Regions from separate parts of the Homo sapiens genome. Here all the other regions are linked to region 1. Evidence: promoter capture Hi-C in 16 types of primary human blood cells and fetal thymus (Javierre and others, 2016). All regions are on one chromosome and are shown on one strand. The core of a region is centred on a gene start or on the middle of the fragment in contact, and the rest is flanking DNA. Distances in the headings are between cores, read along the strand shown. Region 1 holds the start of SNX16 (sorting nexin 16). Region 2 overlaps RBIS (ribosomal biogenesis factor). Region 3 holds the start of PKIA (cAMP-dependent protein kinase inhibitor alpha).

The links. The method cuts DNA at HindIII sites, captures the fragments that hold promoters and counts their contacts. A CHiCAGO score of 5 or more calls a contact.
Region 2: a contact is called between a fragment that was not itself captured here and the fragment with the promoter of SNX16 in region 1, in 1 of 17 cell types (activated CD4 T cells). The highest score is 5.2, in activated CD4 T cells.
Region 3: the fragment with the promoter of PKIA here is called in contact with the fragment with the promoter of SNX16 in region 1 in 2 of 17 cell types (total CD4 T cells and fetal thymus); the score reaches 8.1 in total CD4 T cells.

Annotation. Positions count from the first base shown.
Region 1 is chr8:81,840,400-81,844,782 of GRCh38, forward strand. SNX16 (sorting nexin 16) reads right to left here and starts at 1,786. Exons shown (of 8, transcript NM_152836.3): 1 at 1,723-1,786. It overlaps LINC02235 (long intergenic non-protein coding RNA 2235), which reads left to right and starts at 2,220. Exons shown (of 8, transcript NR_170320.1): 1 at 2,220-2,272; 2 at 4,052-4,172. RefSeq lists enhancers at 860-1,792, 1,720-1,769, 2,201-2,470 and a silencer at 1,340-1,389. The HindIII fragment of the contact is 7,243 bases long and covers 13-4,383 here.
Region 2 is chr8:85,214,876-85,219,258 of GRCh38, forward strand. It overlaps RBIS (ribosomal biogenesis factor), which reads right to left. Exons shown (of 4, transcript NM_001099673.3): 2 at 2,511-2,627; 3 at 46-162. The coding sequence starts at 2,624. Among named protein-coding and RNA genes, the nearest start is that of RBIS, 3.3 kb to the right of the region's middle. The HindIII fragment of the contact is 429 bases long and covers 1,845-2,273 here.
Region 3 is chr8:78,514,591-78,518,973 of GRCh38, forward strand. PKIA (cAMP-dependent protein kinase inhibitor alpha) reads left to right here and starts at 1,750. Exons shown (of 4, transcript NM_006823.4): 1 at 1,750-1,878. The region is part of intron 2 of LOC105375911 (a long non-coding RNA gene); the gene reads right to left. RefSeq lists a silencer at 1,695-1,994 and an enhancer at 2,315-2,424. The HindIII fragment of the contact is 11,771 bases long and covers 1,327-4,383 here.

The DNA of each region.
Region 1 (4,383 bases), core at 536-3,035:
AGACCCTTCTGAAGCTTTATTCCATGCTTATCATCTTGACAGTACTACATTCAGTACAAGAGAGAAAAAAGAAAAGGAAGAAAACTATTTACATTACCTCTGGATTTAATCAGAAAGGGAGGAAATCTATTCACATTACCTTTCAATTTAATTAGTGAAACTATAAAGATTTACACAGAGTAGTAACAATGAACCAGATGCTTTGATGCTACATAGTATAATTCTATAGAACCCAGGATTAAAAATACACACTTGGTCAAGTTACTCAAATAAAACCCAGTGAACACTGAACTTATATGCAACAAAATTAAATAGTGAAAATTGTAACCGTTCTTCACAGCTTACAGGTCATCACTAATTCTGCTCTACGATAAACTGAGGGTATTTAAATCTTTATAACTTACACTCAAGAATCTGTTATCAAACGGACCAGTATATCTTGTGTCAGAATAGTATCATAACACAAAGAAGAAATGGTTTACTATTACTTTGTTAAATAATAAACTCATAAGAAACTGTAACAACTACAGACCAACAAAATGACAAGACTACACACAACAATAACTGCCCAACTTTTCATACGAAACTCTACTGGTGGGAAAGGTAAGAAATGAGTCACCTGGACTTGGAAAGATGCTGAAATAAGATTTTTAACTCTGGGCTGGGCGCTGTGGCTCACGCCTGTAATCCCAGCACTTTGGGAGGATGAAGCGGGTGGATCGCCTGAGGTCAGGAGTTCGAGGCTAGCCTGGCCAACATGGTGAAACCCCGTCTCTACTAAAAATACAAAAATTAGCCGGGCATGGTGGCGCAGGCCTATAATCCCAGCTACTTGGGAGGCTGAGGCAGGAGAATCGCTTGAACCCGGGAGGCGGAGGTTGCAGTTTGCCGAGATCGTGCCATTGCACTCCAGCCTGGGCTACAAGAGGAAAACTCCGTCTCAAAAAAAAAAAAAAAAAAGATTTTTAACTCAAGTGGCTCTCGGCAACATTTCCCCATTATCAAAGATTCATGAAACTTTAGCTGCTGATTCACCGCTCCTCGGTTCCGCCTGACGGCCTCCCCAAAAACAAGTAAGTCTGAAATCTCAACCTTCTCAAGGTCCGAGGGATCTACCTGGCCTTTGCCACTCTACTACCTGAGGCCGCCTGGCTGGGGGGAGGTCGCATATCAATACATATCAACACAACCACTGACGTCCGAAGATGTGAGCGCTACCCAAGCGTTAAAAAAACAAAACAAGCAAACAAACAAACAAAAAAACGTGCTGTGCTCATTAGGAGCGTCTTCGCCTCTACCCTGATGCGGAGTTGCTCCCAGGACGCTCAGTTCATTCTCACTCTGGAAAACCTCAGGTGAGGTGGCCCGACTCTGAGCAACCCCGTGGGCGGGAGGAAAGAGGCAAATACCAGGCACAGTTCGACCCTCGGAAGGTAAGGCCGGGGTCTGCGCCGGTCACGGGTCTTCCGCACTGCAGGCGGCGAGACCCGCAGCTCCCTGGGATCACAGACTCTCCCGCCTCCGCTGACCGGTGCGCGCCCAGCGCCTCCCAGACGCACAGTGGGGTCGGCGGTGGCCTGAAGGTGGCTGGGCTTCCTGCGGCGCCTCTCCACTCTCCCGCGGAGCCCCTTGCCGCCCGCCAGACATCAAGGTTGCAGGTGTCACCCGTACGAGAACCCGGGACAGCGACCGCCTGTCCTGAGGTAATGACCCAGTCTTTACCTCAGCCCCCTCGGCGATCCCGAACGAGCGCGCTTCCCGGTGACGGTTAAACCGGACTCTCCTTAACCGCAGCTTTTCGCCTCCTCCCTCAGCAGCGAGAAGCCTCACGTGACACCCCCGCCCCAAAAGCAGCTGCTCCCCGCCTCAGCCAGTCTCTGCCCGGGCCCAAGATCCCTGCTGTGTGGAAGGAGGGGCCGAACTGGGCGGGGGGGGGGGGGGGGGGAGAGAGAGAGAGAGAGAGGGAGGGAGGGAGGGAGGGAGGGAGAGAGAGAGAGAGAGAGAGAGAGAGAGAGAGAGAGAGACAGAGACAGAGAGAAAGAGAGAGAGAGAGGGCAAGAGCGAGAGACAGAGAGAGAGAGAGAGAGAGAGAGAGAGAGAGAGAGAGAGAGAGAGAGAGAGAGAGAAAGAGAAAGAAAACGAGCGAGGGAGAGAGCGAGAGCGAGAGAGAGAGAGAGAGAGCGTCACACACACATCTCTGCCGGAAGTGATGTCACGGCATGGGCGCCCGCCCACCGGAGGAGCGACTGGAGTTGATCGGCTGGGCGCTCAGGTAGCGAAGATAAATGTAATCTTGTGGCAGGAAATCGACATTCTCTGCACTATCTTTAGTTTTCCAACTGAACTTCTGAGAAATGGAGGCTACAATACCTAGTTTGCCAAACAGGAGAAGACTACAATTCCCAGAAGGAACTGCGACCAACATTGGTCCGTGCTCATACTTTGCATCATGGGACTTGTAGTCATCACCAGCTTGCGCTGATTCTAACAGGTTATAGATTGTTTTCTAGAATTAGCAGCGCTTTAAGGGATGACAATCGATTAGAAGAGTAGGAAGATAGAACACTGCTTAGTAGCTGATCCGTTCTACATAATTCAGAAGTTCTCATTGGCAGAGAACCCCTGAAATTCTGTAGTGTCTTTTTACTATCCGGTGAGCAATTTGATCCCGATGATGGAATATTAGCCTTGTTAGACATGCGCTTCTGAAGACCTGTGCAGTAGGGAAAGCCGAGTTTTTTGATAGGCAAATCCCAAGATTCAGACCGGTCTACAGGTCTGTTCATCATTAGAATCAGATAATGTGGTTGAAAAATCATTCCACGATTTCTAAGGCTTTTGTATAGTCCCAATGTTACCCATGGAGGGTCTTGACTACAAGTCATCCAGGTTCTTGGTTTTTTTAACAAAGAATTGGACAAAACGCACAAAGAAAGCAAGGAAAGAATGAAGCAAGGAAAGCAGAGATTGAAATGACTGTACACTCCACAGAGTGGGAATGGCCTCCAGCCAGTGGCTCAAGAGCCCTGGTTACAGGATTTTCTGGAGTTTAAATATCCGCTAGAGATTTCCCATTGGTTACTTGGTTTACACCCTCTGTAAATTAAGGAGTAGCCTGCAACCAATCAGAGGCTAAAGTTAAGTTACAAAGTTGTACTCCTATGGAAATGAAGACTAGGCCCAGATACCAAGGGCCTAGAAGGTTGGGCAGGGGGTTGCAAAGGGAATAGCCTCTGGTCTTTTTGTTACTTGGGCTTGGAAAGTTGGAGTTTTCCTTTTGATTTAGTTCTAGGAAGTCAGCGTGAATGGGCCTTAGGTTCCCTGCCTCCGGACCCTATTCTACTGCCCGACTAAGAGTGAGAAAAGGTGATAGTGGTCATTTTGAAATGAAGGTTGGAAAATAGTCTGGTTTGTGACATGATGATGGTTTTGGTTTAAGAGATTCTGCCCTTTTAGTGTGAATGAAATAAAAATAGAATTCTGTAGAAACAATGTTAGGTAGGAGAATAGGGTCTGGAAACAGGGGACCTAAGGCTGATTCATGCTGACTGATATCAGAGGCGACTCCATTTTCAACCCCTCTTTTTTCTGCGTGGCAGTTGCTGCGTGGCAGTTGCAACCCTCCTTTCTTTGGGTGGCAGTTGAAAAATGAAAGAACCTCTGATAGAGCCCCTCCCTCAACCAATCAGACTGGTTGAGGGCCTACTTTTCACTCTGATTGGTCTCCTTCCACAACCAATCAGACTGGGCATAGGCCAATGGGAACCCTCTAGAGGGTATTTAAGCCCCAGAAAATTCTGTAGCTGATGCTCTTGAACCCCTTGACTGAGTCTGTTTTCCTTCTGTGGAGTATACTTTCATTTAAAATAAATCTCTGCTTTCCATGCCTTGTTTGTGTGTTCTGTCCAATTCTTCGTTCAAAACACCAAGAACCTGGACAACTACCCTCAATTGGTAACATATTTTGGTGAGCCAGCCAGAAGGTAAGCCCAAAGTTTGGGATTTGTATTTTTCTTTTTCCTCTTTCTCTCTCTCCCTTTTCCTTTCCAAGCTGGGATCCTTGATGGACAGTGCCTAAGCATGGAGGCAACTGCAGGTTTCTGGCCAGGGCCACTCTCTGGTGAAACTAAAAGGTCCATGTGGAAGCACCTGACTGCCACCACCTGGTTCAGGTGAGGAACCTGAGTTCTTTTCTTTTTCAGTCTTTCAGTGGCCATTTCCTAGTAGCTCCTTGGTAACTGAAGGCAACTGGGGCCACTCTCTGGTGTTAACTGAAGGCCCAGGAGTGAATGGGGATAGCTGCCTTGCCCAGAAAGGGGAAGGACTCTTTTCTGTCTTTTCCAGTTGTAGTCCCTGATGCCTATGAGTGATGCAATTGGCAGT
Region 2 (4,383 bases), core at 809-3,308, 3.4 Mb after region 1:
CCTCAATTTGTTAGCCATAAAAAAAAGCAAATGATTTCTGCTTACCAGTTCTTTCTGCAGAGGTTCAAGTGAAATGCTTTTTGCGAAATGTGCAAGTTCCTTTTGTACATTTACAAAAGCTTTATTTACTCTGTTAACTTTTTCCTCATTCATAATGTTTATCTTTTAAAAAGAAAAAAAGCATTAATCTATGATCTCATAACCATTAAAGATAAGATATATTCAACCTTAACCTGTTAAATCTAAAATCTAAAAACTCTTACCAACAAATTAGGGATAATTCACTCAAAAATTCTTATAGTCTTATTGGGAAATTACAGACAAAAAGTTTTGGTTTTTAAAAAATGGGATTTATGTGGCTATGCCTCACACTTATGGTTCAGAAGGCTAAAATATGTGACTGTGATATTGTGATTCATAATAAGATATATATATATATTTGGTCTTTGTCCTCATTTCCTGTCATACAGCTTTTTAAATCATTGTATTAAGAGGGATAAGAGTGTCTTTTGAATGCTAATAAGATGGCTGGTAGCTGGGAGTCTCTAGATAGCTTCAGGAGGAGGGCTAGTCAGATAAAAACACAGGGTTAGAGGATTAGGACTTTCTGCTCCAGAGGAGTGGGGATAAAGGTTAAGCCCATCACTAATGGCCAATGATTTAATGAATTATGCCTACATAATGAAGCCTCCGGAAATCTACAAAAGAACTGGGTTCAAAGAGCTTCTGGATAGCTGAACACATGGGGGCTCCTAGAAAGTGGCATGCCCAGAGAGAGCAGGGAAGCTCCATGCCCCTTCCCATGTACCTTGCCCTCTGCACCTCTTCCATCTGGCTACGCATCTGTCCCCTTTGTAATATCCTTTATAATAAACTGGTAAAAGTATTTTCCTGGGTTCTGTGAGCTGCTCTAGCAAATTAATCAAACCCAAGGAGGGGGTCATGGGAACACTTATTTATAACTGGTTGGTGAGAAGCACAGGTAAAACATCTGGGACTTGTGATTGTCACTGGAAGTTGGGGAGAGGCTTAGGACTCAACTCTCAACCTGTGGAATCTGACGCTATCTCCAGGTCAGCAGTGTCAGATTTTAATTAAAGGACACCCAGCTGCTGCCTGCTGAAGATTCATCTGCAGAATTGTTAGGTGTGGGGGAACTGCCCCACAAATCTAGTATTGGAAGTGTTGAGTGACCGTATGAGAGTGAGAGTAAGAGAAACTGAGTTGCTTTTTTCCTGTATCCTTACAGTGACCAAAATCTTTCTAGGCTACAGTGCTGTCATCCCGCATCTATACAAGAAACCTGGATCAAATACTTTTAGTCCCTTCTAACATAACAATACGTCTCTGAATCCTTCCTGGACCTTCTTGTCTTAATGGAAGACCCCTGATGACAGCTTCCCTCGCAGTCCTCCTCTTGAGTTTAACAGAGGTAGGGGTGGTGCTCTTCTTCTTCACTGTTGCTGCTGCCAAACAATTTCTCCTTCAAAACCCTTACCTCCTTTGCACCTTATGCAGCCTACCCATAGATCTCTCTCTTAGATCCTACCTGGTGGCATATATAAAAGTTCTAGTACCTCCTGTCCAAATAAAATAATCTTCCTCAAATACACCAAGCTTTTCCCTAGCTCAGGGCCTCTGCACTTGCTATTTTTCTCTGCCTCGAACCCACCACTCCCAACACTTCCTAGCTCTTTGCATTGCTAGCTCTTTGTCATTCTAGTCTTGGTTTCAATGTGTCAACTATGAAGACCGTCCTATATAAACTGTCATCCCCAAAACCCCCATCATCTGCTTAATTTCATTCTTAGCATTTATAAAATCATAAAACTATTCAACCAAAAAGCTTAACTCCGCTAGCTCATGAAAGTTGAAAGATGAAATGTTAGATTTCTATGGACTATTATAATTAAACTGAGTCCTGGAGAGCTGACTCCATCTACTACTGAAACTTGAAAACATTTTCTTAAAAATTTTTCTTAAATCTTGTAGAAATTTCTCAGGTATTTTGAAATATAAACAAAGAAAAGAAACCCCTTTCAAATTGTGCATTTCAATAAATATTTTTTATCTTCATTTTACAGGTTTTTGTTTGAATTGCAGATGTCTTCAAAGATACAAGAATTACTGAGGAGAAAAAGAATGGGTGCTCACTGACATCCCATGTCTTGCCTCTATTAATACATTCTTACATTTGAGTTTAGAGATAAGAACTGTTTCCCATACTATGGTTTTTAAATGAGTTCTATGGTTCAGTAAAACTATTAAATTGAAGCTTCACACATTTGTAGTTAAAATGTTTATTTCTTTTCAACATTTGTTTTCAAGAAAGGGAGGTTATTTTTCTTCCTTTTTTTTTATATTTTTTTAGACAAATGCTTGAAACCATCCTTACCTTTCTAGGAAAAATGAAGAACCTTTTTAAAAAGTAATAGTATACAGCTGTTCAGTAGCTTACAATGACACTTTGCTTGTAAACAATAAAGTCAGAGTGCTTAACTAATACTCACCTTCTTAAGATTAGTGGTAACTGGTTTTGCTTTGTTTTTAGCCTTAAAGTTTTTTTGGCTGGCTATGTGAAATACATTCCTGGACTTCGGCCCTCTTAATTTGTTCTTGGCCATTGTCTAGAAAAGAAAATAAATTCAATTAAATTGCCCACATTTATGAACCGTAAGTCAATTTTAAGTTTTTAAAGGTACCAATTAAATCTAAAAAATTCTATCTTACTCTTGATTATTTTTAAAGTTGGTGCATATATTATTTCCAAGTCTTTCACTCCTAGTAGATTTTCTGCTCTTTGAGTACAGAGTATGTATCTAATTCTTCCCTGTATCCCCAGTAATGGGCCCATAGGAGGCATCCAATTAATATCTGCTGGTTGAATTCACTAATATCATCAACACAATAACTGTTATTCTCAGCAGTACCTCACCACCCATCCTTCTGTTAGTCTATATACTACTATGCTATTCTGGTTCCTATCATACTTTAGAGACTGATTCTGCCTCCTTCTTGACTTCTTTTTTATTCCTTTTTACTCTCCCCACTTTCTCTCCTGTGCATCCCATCAAAATCAGTCCTTAATCCTCCATTTCCTACCTCCCTCTCTCCCTTAATTTACTTTTATGACTTCCATATTACCTCTATGTGAACGGCCCTTGCCTTGAAGTGTTGGATACTGTCTTTCCTCCGTAGCTAGAGATGCATTAAGCCAGTAAATTCTACCTTAAAACATCTCTCAGATCTGCCTTTAATAATGTATATGAGGAATAATTTTTAAAATATTAAGTTAACACATATTGAGCTTTTATTATATGTACAAGCACTACACTTATGTGCTTTAACTCATTTACTCCTTACAACCCTTTGTAAGAAGTACTATTATCCCCATTTTAAAGATTAAAATTAAAAAACTGACGCAAAGAGAAGTTAATTTGCCCAATGTCACACTGTCAATAACCAGGAGATGCCAGGACTTACAGCCAGGCAGACTAGATCAGAGCTAACGTTATGTGATATTACACTTCATGTATAAATATAAAAGCTATACAAAAAAATGGTATAGTATTGCTTAGTTCAGGACTGGATTACTGCTGAAGTCCCTAGGTCCATTTGTTCAAACCACTGTTTGTCAAACTATGCCCATGGACCAAATCAGGCCAAGCACCTGTCCTTGTAGTAAAGTTTAATTGGAGGCCAAGTGCAGGCGCGGTGGCTCACACCTATAATCCCAGCACTTTGGGAGGCGAAGGCAGAGACCAGCCTCACCATGGTGAAACCCTGTCTCTACTACAAATACAAAAATTAGCTGGGCGTGGTGGCACATGCCTGTGATCCCAGCTACTCGGGAGACTGAGGAAGGAGAATCGCTTGAATCCGGAAGGCGAAGGTTGCAGTGAGCCAAGATTGCACCAGTGCACTCCAGCCTGAGTGACAGAGCAAGACTCTGTCTCAAAAAAATTAATTAATTAAAAAATAAAGTTTAATTGGAATACAGTTATGTCCATTCAATCATATGCTGATATGGCTGCTTTCCTGCTATAACTATGACCCACAAAGTCCAAAATATTTAGTGTCCGACCTTTAACAGAAAGTCTGCCAACTCCTGGCTTAAGCCATCTGCACAGTGGCTATCTGGCACCAAGCTATGCGATCGACCTTCCCAATGTTAAAAACCTTCAACAGTTTTCCCAATGTATAAGGGGCAACGTGCCTTGGCTTGGCATATTACTGGCACTCTGAATCTACCCTAAATCTGCCACACATATCTCCTGTTACGTCCCTATAAACACTGCTCTAGCCAGCCTGGTCTAACTGTTCTCTTGCACAGACACCTTGAACATTCTTCCTTTTTTACCTTTGCTCAGTCGTAGTCTTGAC
Region 3 (4,383 bases), core at 500-2,999, 3.3 Mb before region 1:
GCTGAAAAATATAGTCTATTAAATAAAAAAAGTAGTGATGATTTGATTATAACATCAGTGTAGTGATAGAGATATCTATAAAAACAGCAATAAGGAATTAGCTGTTGTTTCTATTGGAAACAAAGTCCCAGGTACTCCTAACATTCTTGTGGTTTGTTGCCTACATTATGTTTAAAGGACATGCTAAATGCTAAATTTCAGTTAGAAGTTAGTGAAACTAAAAATGAGATTTTTCCCATTATACTTAATCTGTATAAAAGGAGTATATGAATAGAATTCCATTTATACAGATTAAGAATCTCCTGCTCTATGGTAATATTAACGGGCTAATGTTATGAAAGTGAGTCTCAGAGCGATGAATTAAGCTGTTCTAGCTTTCAAAGAGCATATATTCTATGACCAAGAATTCTAACTAAGTTTTGTTGGAAAGCTGTTGGCTACATTATCACCTAACTTTGGGACTGATAGATGGATGGAAACATCTCATTTAGCAAAGGTGCTTCCCTGGCCTTGTGCAATTGCACTGTTTAGGTTGCTGGACAAATCCATAGTGTAAAGCTGGCCTGTATCAAGTGACGGTCAATTCAAACAGCAAGGCAAGTTAAAAGAGGGAACTCCATTCCACAGAACCCTAGTGTCAAGGAACCTCCCGACTGGAAAATGACTCAACAGCTAGGCGGAAACCCTGGCTCAGCTACAAAGAGAGCAAATTTAGTCCCATTTTTCCTTAAACATTCAACCCTCAAACCTGAAGAGATTTGGGAAAGAAGCAAAACGGGAGGGTGGGGGAGAGAGAACAGTCTTGTTAACAGCTAGTGTTAATTTAAAAAGAGAAGGAAAGGGCTTATATGAATACATGCTTATTTCATTCCCAAAGCAAATTTTCATAAATCCTTAGGGAAAGAGAGATAGTCATTTGCTAATGTAGACTCTGCTTTTTGATTCCCAAATGTTACAGCTGTCACCACAACAGTTTGCCCAATTATGTGGCAGGGAGGGGAGGGGGTCCAGAGCAAAGGAAGTAGGAGGAAGAGATGTTAGAGGGAACATCTGTGCACAAGTGCACCATAAACACAACAAAATCATGGGGCCACCCCACTGTTTCTTTGAGCGCTTTCTCTGGTTGGCCCCACTTCTCCAGTCTTTTAGGAGATTCCCGTTCTATTACGTAGGTGAGAGGGCGAAAGGTTCTAGCTTTCAAAATTGTGAGTGGTTTGGCTGTGTGCATACGTGTGTGTGCGCGCGTGTGTGCGTGTGTGTGTGTGTTTGCGTGTGTGTCTGTTGGCGGGGGCGGGGGTGATGGAGAGAGCTATGAAGGGCTTAGAAAGCTTCATTACCAATTTAAAATGTTTTTGTAGTGCTTGAATGTTTATCTTAAAAGACAATTCCTGCTCTCAAATTCAGCCAAATGAACAATGCTGATAAGGAAGATGAAGAGGGTGGGAAACCCACAGGGGCAAATGGAACAGTCCATGCAGCCGGGGTGACGGGGGAGCGCTCGGAGGAAGGACGCTATGCAGAGAAAGCCCCCCTGGCTCTTCTCTCTCAATCCATAATCCAGCGATGCTGCAGCTGTAAAAGCATTAATAGAAAATCAATCCACAACCTCGCGGGGCAGCGATCGTCGAGCGCCGTTTCCAGGCTGCCTTCCCTGGGGTCGGGAGCGGCCCCGCTCCCCCCGTGGCTGGCGCGGAATGTGGTGATCCGTCCCGGGGCGGGGATGACTTCATGCAGCCGGAGCTCCGCGGCGGGAGCGGAGGCTGCTGCTGGCAGGTGGGGCGCGGGCCGGCGCGAGCTGACCGAGCACTCGGCGGGCGCGGCGGGACTGCGGCCCGTGGCGGCGTGCGCGGGGACCTGCGCTGACTAGGTCCGGGGAAGGTAAGCAGCCCGGCACCGGTGCGCCCTGGCCGCACTGCGTGGAGCTTTCCGCTTGGTTAATAATGGGGTTTGCAGCACGGAGGGAAGAAGGGGAGAACCCCGCTGCATTCTGCAATGAGAAAAGGAGCAACAACTAGGATGGAAATGTTGGGCGGCCAAGTGCAGAGGTTGGAGGAGCAGTGTTACTGGGCAAACAAAGAAGGCGTTCTTGCCTCTATACTCTTTTGAACGTGATCTACCATTTCAGTGCCAGATTCGCGTAGACAGTGAAGAGGACTCAAAATTTAAAATAATTTGAGTTACTCTTTTGCTTTCTGTGCCTTTTACCTTCGCTTGAGTATTTTGAGGATTTGGAGCAGTAGGTCCCTGGCAGCAGCCTGAGGTAATCAGAAATCGTCCCTCTTCCTGTAGTCCTTGGTCCTCTCCCTTTCCAGTTATCAGAATGGGTCTGTGCCCCTCTCAATGGCAAAACACCTGCTTCAAGACTGAACCTTTAGAAAGAGCCTCTATCTGGAGGGGAAACTTCTCTTATCTCCTGGAGTTCAGCTTGGGTTGAGCAGCACTTGACATCGCTTCTTCCTTCAATTGCCATTTTCTCTGTCAATCATTTCATTGATCTTTTTCGGAGATGCTGTGCCCATTCACAGACCAACTCTCGTCAGCTCTTATCCACCACCTGGGTTCCATGACTGATTTTGTCAAGGTCCCAAAAAGGGCATTGCCTCACACAGATTTCTTATTCGGTATTCTCCCTGTATACTGTTACCTGTGTCCTTCCCCCAAATGCATGGAATGAAATATCCTGCTTGTGGCCCTGTACCAACATGTTATCCCATTAACTCCCTTCGCTGTAGTCACTGTGGCTACTTGAAAGCTAGAGAGGACAGATAGAATCTACTGGAGTGTGAGGGATGTTCCCTATGCATAGGCATAGGTAGAAGTAAAAATGTGAATGCCAGTCCATCCAGTTTTTCTTGAAGCAATTTTAGTCCAGTTGGATTTTGAGACAGCTAGCTGTTAAGATTTGGGACAAATCCTTTCCAAAAGGCAGAGGAGTCCGTTTGCCTCTAGGATTCCTCAAGAACCTCAAAAGAGTTTCCAGTGAGGTTTTCCTCGTAGGCAGTCAGAAAGCCAATGGAGCTGCCCAATCTAAGCCTCTGGTTGAGTATCCTCTAGTTTGTCTTGCCATTTGCAGGTTCCTATCCCTCGTCCTAGGATTTTCCCCACAGACCCCTTGCTACTGAGCCCAAGTGCCTATCCTTGTTGCCACCTAGAGATGTACATTTGAATAATATGCTGTGAAATGGTTAAGATGGCTGTTATGGGGATTGCAAACGTGCCACTTCACCAACAGAGAACAGTTGCAATAAGCCAGATTGTGGGGTATCTGTGTGCCAATGTTCTATTTAAAGGAAGATCTGTTATCTTTAAACTTAAAATTACAGAGACTGTCTGACTCAACAGCCATGCAATTTTATTTTAGTAAATTAAATTAGAAGATCAATGAAAAAGAGGGGCAGAGTTGGTAGCTTAAAATTTTACCTCTTTCTTTCCTCTTCAAATATTATTTTTAAGCAAAGACACTAGTATGGAAAATCGTGTTAATCATATTATATATCATTATTGCCTTTCTATTACAAATTTCGTTTTTACAAAATGCACTTTAGAAAGATTTGAATTTGTTTCTTTGTCTCCATCTTCAGTATATGAGGCATAGGGTGAGGGTGTAGGGGGTGGGCAAAGCCCACTACTGAGTGATCCACTCCAGGAACTGCCCCTTGGGGTCTTAATAACCTTATGTTCCTTTTTTGTTGTTGTTATTATGTGTTAAACAGGGTTTTGGTTTGAAATATTAACTTCTTGAGATTCTAGAATTTTTACTCAGTCACATTAACTATGAGGTAACAAAGAACAAGATCAACAACAAACCCTGTATTCTACCACCTTTTTTCTACTATTAAAATACTTAACCATATACATCATTATTCTGAATAATACTAATATAGAATAATAATGAATTTTAATATAGTTATTCTAAATAACCTAAGGTATATGAAATACAGATTAGTACAATTGATCTTAGAAATACAATGCAGTTTCTGTAATGTTGACAGTCACCTTTCTGTTGAAGAGCAAGTGCGTGAGAATATCCTAATGATGGTTAGAAATTCGAAGTGTCTATCATTTAGTTTCTGAAGAAACTAAACTCTTTGGCAAGAAATAGGTTCAGGATTAGGAGACTGGTGCTGCCTAAGGTGGAATAATACTTGCTAGTGATTTTGCAGGTGAGTTGAACCCACTAAGTTATGGACTGGAGTTGGAGAAATCTTGTTGAGAAGAAAGAAAACAAGTTAGAAAATTTAATTTTCATTTTAGTACAACTGAGGAAGATAATCAAACTGAAGGGATTCCTGAATTTGGACTTTGTTGTGTTTAAACAAGTTTGAGGAAAGTTTCTAAATTTAGAAGGCTAAGCAGAAATATATGTATGATTTTATGTCTGAA